Regions from separate parts of the Homo sapiens genome. Here all the other regions are linked to region 3. Evidence: promoter capture Hi-C in 16 types of primary human blood cells and fetal thymus (Javierre and others, 2016). All regions are on one chromosome and are shown on one strand. Each heading gives the region's core, a stretch centred on a gene start or on the middle of the fragment in contact. The rest is flanking DNA. Distances are from core to core; before and after follow the strand shown. Region 1 overlaps LINC02762 (long intergenic non-protein coding RNA 2762). Region 2 holds the start of PLET1 (placenta expressed transcript 1). Region 3 holds the start of TTC12 (tetratricopeptide repeat domain 12). Region 4 overlaps PTS (6-pyruvoyltetrahydropterin synthase).

The links. The method cuts DNA at HindIII sites, captures the fragments that hold promoters and counts their contacts. A CHiCAGO score of 5 or more calls a contact.
Region 1: a contact is called between a fragment that was not itself captured here and the fragment with the promoter of TTC12 in region 3, in 11 of 17 cell types (naive B cells, monocytes, total B cells and 8 more). The highest score is 13.2, in naive B cells.
Region 2: a contact is called between the fragment with the promoter of PLET1 here and the fragment with the promoter of TTC12 in region 3, in 4 of 17 cell types (naive B cells, naive CD8 T cells, total B cells and 1 more). The highest score is 6.3, in naive B cells.
Region 4: a fragment that was not itself captured here is called in contact with the fragment with the promoter of TTC12 in region 3 in 11 of 17 cell types (total B cells, activated CD4 T cells, total CD8 T cells and 8 more); the score reaches 22.4 in total B cells.

The regions. Positions count from the first base shown.
Region 1 is chr11:112,285,735-112,288,697 of GRCh38, forward strand. All of the region lies in intron 1 of LINC02762 (long intergenic non-protein coding RNA 2762), which reads left to right. Among named protein-coding and RNA genes, the nearest start is that of LINC02762, 16 kb to the left of the region's middle. The HindIII fragment of the contact is 2,402 bases long and covers 173-2,574 here.
Region 2 is chr11:112,259,331-112,262,405 of GRCh38, forward strand. It overlaps PLET1 (placenta expressed transcript 1), which reads right to left and starts at 1,530. Exons shown (of 4, transcript NM_001145024.1): 1 at 1,076-1,530. The coding sequence starts at 1,259. LOC100132686 (a long non-coding RNA gene) reads left to right here and starts at 935. Exons shown (of 1, transcript NR_133566.1): 1 at 935-2,066. The HindIII fragment of the contact is 13,385 bases long and covers 1-1,651 here.
Region 3 is chr11:113,312,934-113,315,893 of GRCh38, forward strand. TTC12 (tetratricopeptide repeat domain 12) reads left to right here and starts at 1,650. Exons shown (of 22, transcript NM_017868.4): 1 at 1,650-1,685. It overlaps TTC12-DT (TTC12 divergent transcript), which reads right to left and starts at 1,523. Exons shown (of 5, transcript NR_199709.1): 1 at 1,397-1,523. RefSeq lists silencers at 1,461-1,710, 1,734-2,028, 1,921-2,020. The HindIII fragment of the contact is 13,389 bases long and covers 1-2,916 here.
Region 4 is chr11:112,226,989-112,229,850 of GRCh38, forward strand. PTS (6-pyruvoyltetrahydropterin synthase) reads left to right here. Exons shown (of 6, transcript NM_000317.3): 2 at 1,606-1,685. Among named protein-coding and RNA genes, the nearest start is that of PTS, 2.0 kb to the left of the region's middle. RefSeq lists a silencer at 78-372. The HindIII fragment of the contact is 1,163 bases long and covers 920-2,082 here.

The DNA.
Region 1 (2,963 bases), core at 124-2,623, 1.0 Mb before region 3:
CTGGGTCACCTCTCATTTCCTAAATGTCTGTTCTCTTTCTTGCCTCTCCAAGTTCAGCTGCAGAGCAGCTGCATTCCTCAGTAGGCAGTGGGAGAGACTCTGTCTTTCTCCTGCGCTGCAGCCCGTCTCATCACAGGCTTCAGGTGGTCCCTTTGGGCTCCCACAGCAGTCAAGCTTCCTGCGCATGATTAAAGGGATGCTGGTGCTTCTGAAATAAAGCACCAGGGGCAGAGGCTGATGGCTCAAGCCCAATCCCCAGGTCTCCCAGAGCTGGCTTCCCTGGTAGGCAATCACAGACTTTGCAGGGAGGAGCCATCTCCTTTGTTCTTATGTGTTGCTTCTTTCTTGCTACCCAGGCTCATGTTAATTGCTTTTCTGACATTTTTTCTGGCAAGTGATTTTTGCTGCTGCTTGTGGAGGTGACATGGCAAGCCCACAAGGGAGCGATAACAATGACCTAATGCAGAGCCGAGGAGGCTGGGGCTCCTATACGGGGTAGAAGATAATGAAGTTGAGTCATGAACAATTTGTTCTAAATGGTCAGTGAGATAGGCTCAGAGCCTTCAGAAATGAGAGTAGCCTGTGGCCAAGGCTTTCCTGAGAAGTTGTTCCCTCGGCCTTTGTAGTTCTGGCAGACCACCCTTCCTGGTGCAGGGACCTCAGGATGTGGGAACCTGTGCACAGGGCTAGATGATTCCTAAGGTCTTCCAAGAGCTTGTGAATGTCGGCAGCACAGAGACTAGAACTATGATGATCCTATCTTCCCAGCTACCTGTCAGAACACGTAGTCTGGTAATCCAGCAACTCCATTAGCCCAGATATTTATTCCACTTACTCTGTGCCAGGCATGGTGTTAGCTGGAGACATGACAGTAAATGGGTCACAGTTCCTACCTCAGTTCAGCTCACAGCCCGGATGGGAGACAGACCCACACTTAGATAATTATAATGCAGCAGGGCGAGTACCAGGATCCAGTGATGTATGGGGGTTATTCTGAGCACAGAGGAGAGGTCTCAGGGGCCAGGACAGGCTTCCTGGAGGCAGCACCAACACTACTGAGTCTTGAATAAGCAGAAGTTATAGCTGGGCCAGGCCAAGGGGAGTATAGGGGTGAGGAGGGAAGAGCTGATTTCTTCTCCTGCCTGAACCACCTGTTTAAAAGCAACATGGGGAAACAAAGCCATATGAAGAGGGGAAGTTGACAAGCACAAGTCCCTTGACTCTACAGAACAAATTTTAATCTCCCTTTCTTTGTACGAGGGTCTCCAACTCAGTGTCCAGCCACCCAAGCTCTAGCCTGTGGGGACCCTTCATAACTCCTCCCAGGGGGTCAAGGCAACCCAGCATTTCCTGGGGGATGCAGATGAGTGTGGCCTAATAATTCTTGCTCCAATCAGCGACTGTCTAAAATGTGGGCAACCTGAGCACCCAGTGCCATCCAGAGCTCAGGGTAGGTGCTCATCATGTCCTTGATTGCAGCTGCATGTGTGTTTGCCTCTTACCTGTCATGATGATCAACAGGAGCTCGGCAGTTGTAATCAGCAACGAGAGTTACACATGTCATTAGGTTTACAGAGTAACATGGGCCAGGCCAGAAGATATGTCTGCAAGAGGTCTCCTTGGTATGGCCAGCTATGGCCAGAGGAATAATAAAGGCAAGGCCTTCCCAGGTGGGCACCTCTGCTATTTTCTACTGGAGGCAGGGGCTGAGTCCTCGAGTGGGGAAATGCCGATGTGGCCAGTTTCTCTAAGGACTCTGGGGCTCTGTTGGCCCCTTGGCTACATTTCTTGACTTTGCCATTGTTATTATTAGCTTTTCTAGGTGGATAATGGGATAATGGGAGGCAATGTGGTTAACATTTTTTTTAAAAAAAATAAATGTTGGCCGGGTGCGGTAGCTCATGCCTGTAATCCCAGCACTTTGGGAGGCCAAGGCCAGTGGATTACCTGAGGTCAGGAGTTTGAGACTAGCCTGGCCAGCATGATGAAACCCTGTATCTACTAAAAATACAAAAATTAGCCAATGTAGTGGCTCATGCCTGTAGTCCCAGCCACTTGGGAGGCTGAGGCAGGAGAATCGCTTGAACCCAGGAGGTGGAGGTTGCAGTGAGCCGAGGTTGTGCCACTGCACTTCAGCCTGGGTGACAAGGGTGAAACTCCGTCTTAAAAAAAAATGTATTGTGTGTATCGAAGGTATCCAACATGATGTTAATGTGATTTTATGAAAAGCAGCCTTTGCAGTCAAGTAGACATGAACTTGAATCTTAGCTCTGCCACTTCAGCTGTGCAGCTTTGAACACTTAACTTCTTTCAATGTGAGTTTCTCATCTATTAAATGGGGTTAATCATGTCTATTTGTATCTATTTCCAAAGAGTGTTGTGAAGATCCAAGGGGATAGCACGTGTAAAGCACATTCTTCTTACCTTTTATCTCCCTGAGCTGAGTGTAGAGGCTGCAGTCATTCATTGAACAATTGTTTATTGTCTACTTATTGCTAACCATTGTTGCGGGTTCTGCGGAAACAGTAATGAACAAAAGTCTCTGTTCTCATCAAGTTCACATTCTGGTGGGGAAGCTTGAAAATAAGTAAGTAAACTAAGCAGGATAACTTCAGATAGTGATAAAAGCTATACAGAAAAGGAAACAGGCCCATAGGATAGAAGTGATTTGGTGGGAGGCCTGAAGAGGCTTTAGGGAGCACAGTGGTCTTTGAACCAAGACCTGGAGGCCAAGAAGGAGCTGGGCCTGCGGAGACCTGAGGAAGAGCATTCCAGGCAGAGAGAAGAGCAAGGGCACAAAGTGCTGAGGTGGGAAAGCATTTGGCAAGAAAGAAGATGCTTGCAGGAGGAGCACTGTGAACCCTGGGGAGTGTGGGATGAGGAGAGGAGCAGGAGTGAGTTCCATGCATGTTCCCAAACTCTGTGCTGAGGTGTTCTTGGAGCTGCTGTGGATTCAGAGGGGC
Region 2 (3,075 bases), core at 280-2,779, 1.1 Mb before region 3:
CTGTTTCTCATCTACAAAATGGGAATGATAATGATATCTCCCTAATAGGTCACTATTACATGTTAAACACCATAGGAAGTGTTATTATTATGAAATGAATTAGAAAGCATATTCCTTGACTTTTAGGTTTGGCTGATTCAAAAAGGGCTATATAAAAAATATCTACTGGACACCTCTAAGAAAAGCATTGGATTAAGAATGAACAGACTAAGATTCAAGAGCCAGTTCTATGACTTACTAGAAGGGAGACTCTGGGCAGGTCATTTAATTTCCCTTGGTCTCAGGCTTTTCATACATAAAGTGGGTTAGTAATACTTCCCCTGTGTTGTTTATTAGATTTTTTTCACCCACGGACTAAATGCAGTACACAATTATCCCCAGAGGCATCATATTGTCAAATAGATATGAAAAGATTACACACTGGAGGCTGGGTACAGTGGCTCACACCTGTAATTCCAGCACTTTGGGTGACTGAGGTGGGTGGATCACTTGAAGCCAGGAGTTCGAGACCAGCCTGGTCAACATGGAGAAGCCCCATCTCTACTAAAATACAAAAAATTAGCCAGGCGTGGTGGTGTGCACCTGTAATCCCAGCTACTTGGGAGGCTGAGGTACAAGAATTGCTTGAACCCAGGAGGCGGAGGTTGCAGTGAGCTGAAATTGTACCATTACACTCCAGCCTGGGTGACAAAGTGAGACTCTGTCTCCAGAAAAACAAAAACAAAAAGAGAAAAGATTATACACTGGAATGCAATGATTATCCCTTAAAATGATAAAACTGCCCATTTTATTTAAGTCAGAGAATCTACCCCAAGTGTGCTCTTGCTGGGACTCAGTGAATCTGGGGTTGGGGCTTTCTCGCTCCTGTGGCTTGAGTTCACAAGGAATTTGCAGAAATAGCCCCCCAGCCCACTCCCTTAATTCTCATTCTTTGTCTTCCTTCCCTTGCTTCCCATTTGGTTCAGAAGACACATGTTTTGTATAATTGAGAGTAGCGATAGAGGGGTGTGTTCTGAAATTCTGGTTAATTTCCCTCAGGGAACAAAGGACAGCAGAGAGCATGGCTTCTACTCACCAGAATAGACTGCATTGCTTTCGTAGATATGTGAACTGGCCTTGATGTCTAGGGTTATGGTGTAGTATTCATCAAAGGTGAAGCAGGTGCTACTGTACCTTATAAAGGTGGCAGAAGAAAGCTGCAGACTGAGGCACAGAAACATCCCCAGTGGCTGCAGCAGCATGTCATGGAAGACTGCCATGGTCTCAGTCTGTTTGGAAAGTGCTAGGCCTGGAATTGGGTGAAACTGACAACTCACCTCTTGTTTATATGCCAGGGCTTCTGGGTGAAGTCATACATGCAGATCTTCTCCCTGCCCCTTCTGAATATACATTGGATTCTGGAATTTGGCCCAAGACATCACCAGGAATGAATCACCAGTCACCATTACCTGTCACCGATGATTTTGCAAATTGCAGTTTTGCTCAAGAAAGGGAATGTCCTGAATATGGTTTTCTTTTACGCCTGTCATTTCAGCATCTGCTGTTTGAAGAAAGCCATTGAGAAGATGTGAATACCAGCAAGTGAAATTCAGAGTTGTGTAAAATGTAAAATAAACCCCTGAGGAATGAGATGTCTATAGGGGGTTTGAAAAGCTTGGACGAATCCCTGGGAATCTAAAAAGCCATGTGCATGTGCAGGGCTACACACATTCCCAGGAAAGACCTGAGGAGGCCCTAATTACTCACCTCTGGCCGACCTTGAGGCTCTGCACAAGTAAGAAGTAAAGGCTAAGGTAGAGCTGTAAACTGCCTATCTGATCACTGAAGGCATTCCCCAAAACACACATGCAGAAGTGCTTAGCAAAGACTGGGAGACTTGTTGGTTCCAGAGTTATTAGTTAAAGAAATTTTTTAAAAATCTATTTATTAGCTGGTCAATAAGCAAACAGAACAGAGACTTTGGTGGTTACACATGATAAAGAATACAGACTTCACATAATTAATTTAGGAAAGTCATAAAACAAACAGCAGCAACAACAACAATAAAAAAGAATAACAAACAGCAACAAAAACAAACTCAGGGAGGAGAAGGGAGTCTGGTGTCCAAAGTTGTCACATTTGTGTGTGTGTGTGTGTGTGTGTGTGTGTGTGTATGTATGTATTTATTTATTTTTTTGAGACACAGTCTCACTATTGCCCAGGCTGGAGTGAAGTGGTGCAATCATAGCTCACTGCAGCCTCAAATTCTTGGGCTTAAGTGATCCTCCTGCTGCAGCTTCCCAAGTAGCTGGGGCTATAGGCACGTGTCATCACACCTGGTTAATTTTTATAGTTTTTGTAGAGTCTTGCTATGTTGTCCAGACTGTTATTGAACTCCTGGGCATAAGCAATCCTCCTGCCTCAGCCTCCCAAAGTGCTGGGATTATGGGCATAAGTCACTTTGCTTGGCTTCATGTTTTTTAAATGTTCAGTTTTCAAGAAAAATTATAAGATATACAAATAAACAAGAAAGTATGGCTTATACAGAAGAAAAAAACATCCCAGGTAAACAGAAACTGTCCCTGAGGAAGCCCACACGCTGAACTTGACATAGACGTTAACTCAGCTTTATAAATACGTTCAAAGAACTAGAAAAAATCATGTCTAAAGAATTAAAGGAAAGTATGAGATTGATTTTGGTGATTGTCTCACCAAGTAAAGAATAGTAATAAAGAGATTAAAATGATAAAAAGAGCCAAATAGAAATTCTGCAATGGAAAAGTACAATAACTACGATTTTAAAAAGTCACCAGAAGAACTCAACAGCATATTTGAACTGGTAGAAGAAAGTATTGGTGAACTTGAAGATGGGTCAATTGAATACATTTAACAAAACAAGTGCAAGACTTGTATACGGAAAACTATAACAATACACTCAGGATAGTCAAAATGATCTTGAAAACAAACAAACAAAACTCACAAAGTTTGAGGACTCACACTTCCCAATTTTAAAATTTACTGTGTAGCTACAGTAATCAAGACAGTGTGGTACTGACATAAGGATAGACATATACATCAATGAAATAGAATTGAGAT
Region 3 (2,960 bases), core at 400-2,899:
ACAGGCATGCATCCTATGGGGCCTAGGCCACAAGAGAGTCAACAGGCTGTACTTGGAATCAACACTAGAGCTAGCTGGCCATGCCTGGATCCCTCTCCCCTCTGGCGAATTCCATCTCTAGGGGCTCCTTGTTCCCTGCCAAACAGGTTTCCATAAAGCACTCATTTGCCAAGAAGTTCCGGGTGTTTCTGACCGTGAACTTAAGCTCAAGTTTCCCCTAAACCTGCTTTTTTTCCATTGGTAACCCTGCACATAATACTCTGAGATTTTGTTTAGAAAAACAGACTGAAATTTCTTTAGGGCTGTGTGCATGTATTTGGGGCATGAATGAATGTGCCTATTAGCTCATTCTGTTCTAAACCCTATGATTCCCCGGATGTCACGTGCCACCTGTTCCTACTGACTAGGTACCAGGCACTGAAACCACCATTGCAAAATTATAACTGAGATGGTGAAAGGGATCTGACCTAACCGACTCCATCTTGCTTCTCATCTCCAAGCTGTCTTTGTTCATTCCTAGGCATAGGCCAAACTAACTTTGGGGGGAACTTAGTTTATAGTGTAGCTTTGAAACAAAGACAATACCAGCCCTTTCCCAAACAAACCCCCTTCTTGCCCAGGAACTAGACTGCCTTTTCAGGACTAACAAATTAGCCACAAAATTAGAAATTATGGTTTAGGAGTCATGCAGCTAGAGGCTGCAAGATTCTAAACCTCAAATTGCTCCTGGGGATAACATCAACTATTGTAAAACCTAAGATCAGTGCTTAAGATATTTCACAGACACTGCACTCGATGGATCAGCTGGCACCACCCAGATGAATAAACTGGCTCATCTGGTCTTATGACCCCCACCTGGCAACTGACTCAGCACAAGAGGACAGCTTTGACTCCCTGTGAGTTCATCTCCTAGCCTACCAATCAGCACTCCCGACTCACTGACCCCTACCCACCAAATTATCCTTAAAAACTCTGATCCCTGAAAGCTAGGGAGACTGATTTGAGTAATAATAAAACTCCGGTCTCCCTCACAGCCAGCTTTGTGTGAATTACTCTTTCTCTATTGCAATTCCCCTGTCTTGATAAATCGACTCTGTTTAGGCAGTGAGCAAGGTGAACCTATTGGGCGGTTACAGCACTTTAACCATAAACCTTATGAGAAAGTGCCATTTCTCCATTTCACAGGTGAGAAAACTGAGGATTAAAAAGGTTACTCAAATAACTTTCCTAAGGATAAATGTGTGAGTCTTCTAACTCACACATTTATCAATGAACAAAACCGGATTCACAAGTACACTGGAGACTTTACATTTTGGGCAAGGATATTAAGCTAACGGGAGTGAGACAACCCTTCTTCAGTAGAAAAAAGGCGAGCAGCAGGCGCTGCTTTAGTTACCAGCACTTTGCTTCCTCCGTCTCCCCGCGCCAGGCATCGGGCATCCCAACCTCGACTTTGGCCTTCAACTTGGCGCGCTCCGGAGCTAGAGCTCTGCGGTAGCGAATCTGATCGCGTGTCCATGCCCGCCCCCTGTCCCGCCTCCTGGCTTTTGACCCCGTCCTTGGTCCCGCCCCGGGCCCTGGCTCCTGGCCCCGCCCTTGGTCCCGCCCCGGGCCCCTGGCTCCTGGCCCCGCCCCAGCCCAGGCAGGTCACTGCGCCATTTCCTGTCCAAAGCTGGGCGAATCAGGTCGGTGCCGCGGGGTACCCCGGAATCCCCCCTGGGAGCTGGTCCTGCACTGGCCTTCAGAGCCGAGCAGAGGACGCTGCTTTGGGCCCCAGAGCATGGGAAGGTCTTGGCTGCGGTCTGGGACGGCTGCGGTCTGGGACCTGCATGGAGGGCCCGGGACTTGCGGACGCCTGGGAGCGGTTGCTGGGCAACAGTGCGTGCGGCCTGGCCTCTTTGCGCCCGGCGGGCAGCGCGCGTCTGGGGCAGGCTCCGCGCGGGGCTCGGGCACAGGTCCCCGCTGCCGCAGCCCTACCGAGTGAAGCACTGAGCGCGGCGCCGCTTCGCCATCACCTGGCTCTGGCCCTCTCACCCTAGCGTAGGGGGGCACTGGCCAGGCAGTGAGGACCCTGAGATCCATGCCCTGGGAGACAGAGGTTGTCTCCTGTCCATGCACCCGCGCGCCTGCCTTCTAACCTTCATACCGTTGGGCAGATTAATTCACTGGACTAGGCCTCTGTTCCGTGGGAGTTGAAAAGATTTGACCTGGAAGAAACCCTAGCGATTATTCAGTTAAGCCGCAACCCCACCCCCTGTTTTATATAGGTAAGGGTGCTTCACGGTGAGGACTCGTCGCGTGCCTGGTGCTTTACATCAGTCCCCAGAATAGTCCTCGTAGTTTCTCTCTTACTGTTCCCATAGTATGGGTGAGGACTCTGAGGCTCGGAGAGGTTGTGAATTTAGCCAGAATCACACAGCTTGTAACTGGTGGAGATGAGGACACTGAGACTCGATTAAATCACTCGTAGTTTGTTCGTGGCAGATTACGTGTTAGAAGCGTGTTACACTACTATGAAACCTGGCCATAAATGAGAATCACCTGGAAAGTGTTTAAAATCTATATTCGTGTCTGGGCAATGTCCCGGGTTTACTGACTTGAAATCTCGGGCTACGGCTGAGGAAGCTGTATATTTAACAATCTTCCCGATGATTTTTATGATCTGTGGATGAACCACTGAGTACTGCTGGGTACACCACGGGGCCTTCTCGCACAAAAACAACTGTAAAATAATATCTGAGGTACCTAGAGCAGAAGAGACGCTGGTGAGCATGGTAACATTATGTTCTAATCCCTTCAGTCAATTTGTACCCTTTCTTCACTCTTCAGAAACAAGCCAAAGGCAGATTTTAAACAAGTATGGACATTTAGATGCAAATTGCCCCAAGTTTGTTACCTGTCACACATCCACATTTAAGCTTCTGACTAGACCAGCCTGTCATGATCAAAGTCAGGTGTTA
Region 4 (2,862 bases), core at 251-2,750, 1.1 Mb before region 3:
CAAGGCAAATTTTAGCCCCTTTTTTACCAAAGACTGGATGAACCCAGTCCCTGGTGGTCTAGTGGCTAGGAGAAAAAAAAAAAAAAATGAGCCCAGACGTTCAGTTTCCGAAGCAGCATAGTTGGGATTTGAATCCCGATCATACATACTGCTTGCATGCACTGACGAGTTGATTTTGAGGAATTTTACCACGCACTAACCAGCTCCACCCTCTGGCCCTCCGTATCGTCGTCTGTGAAATGAGGATGACCATCGCTATCTAACAGGATTCATCCCTCCATTCGCTAAACCAGGTTTTGTTTCGTGCTTGTCAGGGCTTGTGCTAGGTAACGGATGCATCAGGGATCTTGTATGGGGTTTCCAATCTGGCCTATTTTGTGGAGGGTACACTGAGAAAATTTTGTGCAAAAGACTTTAGCACTCTAAATACAAGAAGTGGCTGAGCAGGAGAAAGTGGGGGTGTGTTATTCCATTTTGCATTGCCACAAAGGAATACTGAGACTGGTATTTTATAAAGAAAAGAGGTTTATTTGGTTCTGCAGGCTGTACAAGAAGCATGGCACCAGCATCTGCTTCTGTTGAGGCCTCAGGGACCTTCCACTCATGGTGGAAGGCGAAGGGCGAGCAAGCAGGCAACTCACAGGGCAAGTGAGGGAGCAAGAGAGAGGAGAGGAGGTGCCAGGCTTTTTTTAACAACCAGCTCGCCCATTGACTAATAGAGCGAGAACTCACTCATTGCTTCAGGGAGGGCACCAAGCCATTCATAAGGGATCCACTTCCATGAGCCAAACATCTCCCACTAGGCCCCATCTCCAACACTGGGGATCACATTTCAACATGACAATTGGAGGGGACAAACATCCAAACTACATTGGGGGGAATAATAAAGAGGATCTCAAAAAAAAGGGGTTGTATAATAAGCTTAAACACCTGAGGGTGGTAAGGTCTCATAGACGATGCGAAATTGAATGGATGGGTATAAGTATAAACATTAAGCAATTTGTTTTCTGTCTGAGACGACAGCCAAAGATTGTAATTTTAAAAATTCACCTGCTTGGAATATTCCTCAACAGATTGGTAAAGTTCTCATGAGGCAGTAGTTGAGACATAGTATAAAGCAAGATTGCTAAATAGGAGACTTACCAGGTCATGTAATTTTTTTAAATTATTTTTTCTGGATGAGTAGTTTAGCTTCTGAGAGAAATGAGATAGTAAGCCACTTTGCGGATCACCATCTATGTTTATCATTATATGCTGTTATTTCATTCAGCACTTGCCTGTTACATTGTAGGCACTCAGTAATGTTGAATTGAAAAGTGGAAGGCCCATGAGCAGATCAGTTGCTGTGGAACAAGGGGGTTGAAGTTAAGGTTTGTTTGTGCTAATTTGTATGGTACAATCTTCTAATTAGGGAATATGCCATGGTTTGTGACGTATACGTAAGTAATAAAATCAACATGATTTCTGACTCTCCCTTTGGTGAGCTAAAGTAATAAATTGGGAAACTTTTCAAAGATCAGTACAAATAATAAATATAAGGAACAGAGAAGGGGGTTTGAATGTGATACTTGTGTCATGCTGACTTTTTTTTTTTTTTTTGGTCAGTAAATTTCTAAGTGATGAAGAAAACTTGAAACTGTTTGGGAAATGCAACAATCCAAATGGCCATGGGCACAATTATAAAGGTGAGAGAAAAACTGATGACATTTCAGCCCTTCAATAAGGATGAAAGAGTATTCAGCAAATGTAGACATAAAGAATGGGAAAACTTACGGACACAGTGTGAATGCTTTGAGCCTTGAATGAGAAATTAAATGGGAGTTCAGAATGAAAGGATCTGTTGTCTTGGTTGGGTGTGTGTTAAGTTTTACCTTGCAATGTCAACTCTTACAAACAGTCCAAAACAATGAATGGTTTAAAGCATTTTTCTTTGTCCTAGAGTACACAACAAGTTTCTTTCTGATTAGGTATGGCCAAGGCTAATGTTAAAATTAGATTTTATTCTTTGAGTAAATAATGACTGACAAAAGGGGAATGTTGCCTAGGAATGTAATGTATGGCAGAAAAATAGGTTTGGTCTAAAGCTTTGCCAGCAGTGTTCGAAGAAAGTAGGTAATTTGTTCAAGGATAAGAGACTTGATTCTTTGAGGTACAGCCTGCCTTAAAAAACAGGTACATAAGTCGTAGAGTATAAAACAGTATGTGGTGTGGTGGCATAAAAAAAAACAGACAAGGTGTCAGGAGATTAGGATTACTGGTTTAGCTACAGCCTCTTCCTTAATCTATGGTATCTCAGTCTCAGTGTACTCACTTACATGTAATATCTAATGGTATTTGTACAGAACTAAAATACATAAATTCATAAAAGTTATTAATGTGTAAAGCACTGATAAAGTTTTTTTTTGTTGTTGTTGTTTTTTTTTTTGAGATGGAGTTCCACTCTTTTTGCCCAGGCTGGAATGGTGTGATCTCCCGTCACTACAACCTCCACCTCCCAGGTTCGAGCGATTCTCCAGCCTCAGCCTCCCGAGTAGCTGAGATTACAGGCGCCCGCCACTATGCCTGGCTAATTTTTGTATTTTTAGTAGAGATGGGGTTTCACCATGTTGGCCAGGCTGCTCTCAAACTCCAGACCTCAGGTGATCTGCCCGCCTCGGCCTCCCGAAGTGCTGGGATTACAGGCTTGAGCCACCACGCCTGGCCAAGATTTTTCAAATGCTTCTCACAAGCACTTTTTAATTTACAAAGCATTACTTTAGACTTTGTATACATTCATGTGAGTAAGGGGACAAGAATTTAAGGCCCAGTAGTATTGCTTGTTCAGAAAGGTACTGCTCAGTATTGGACCAGCTTGCTGTGTAG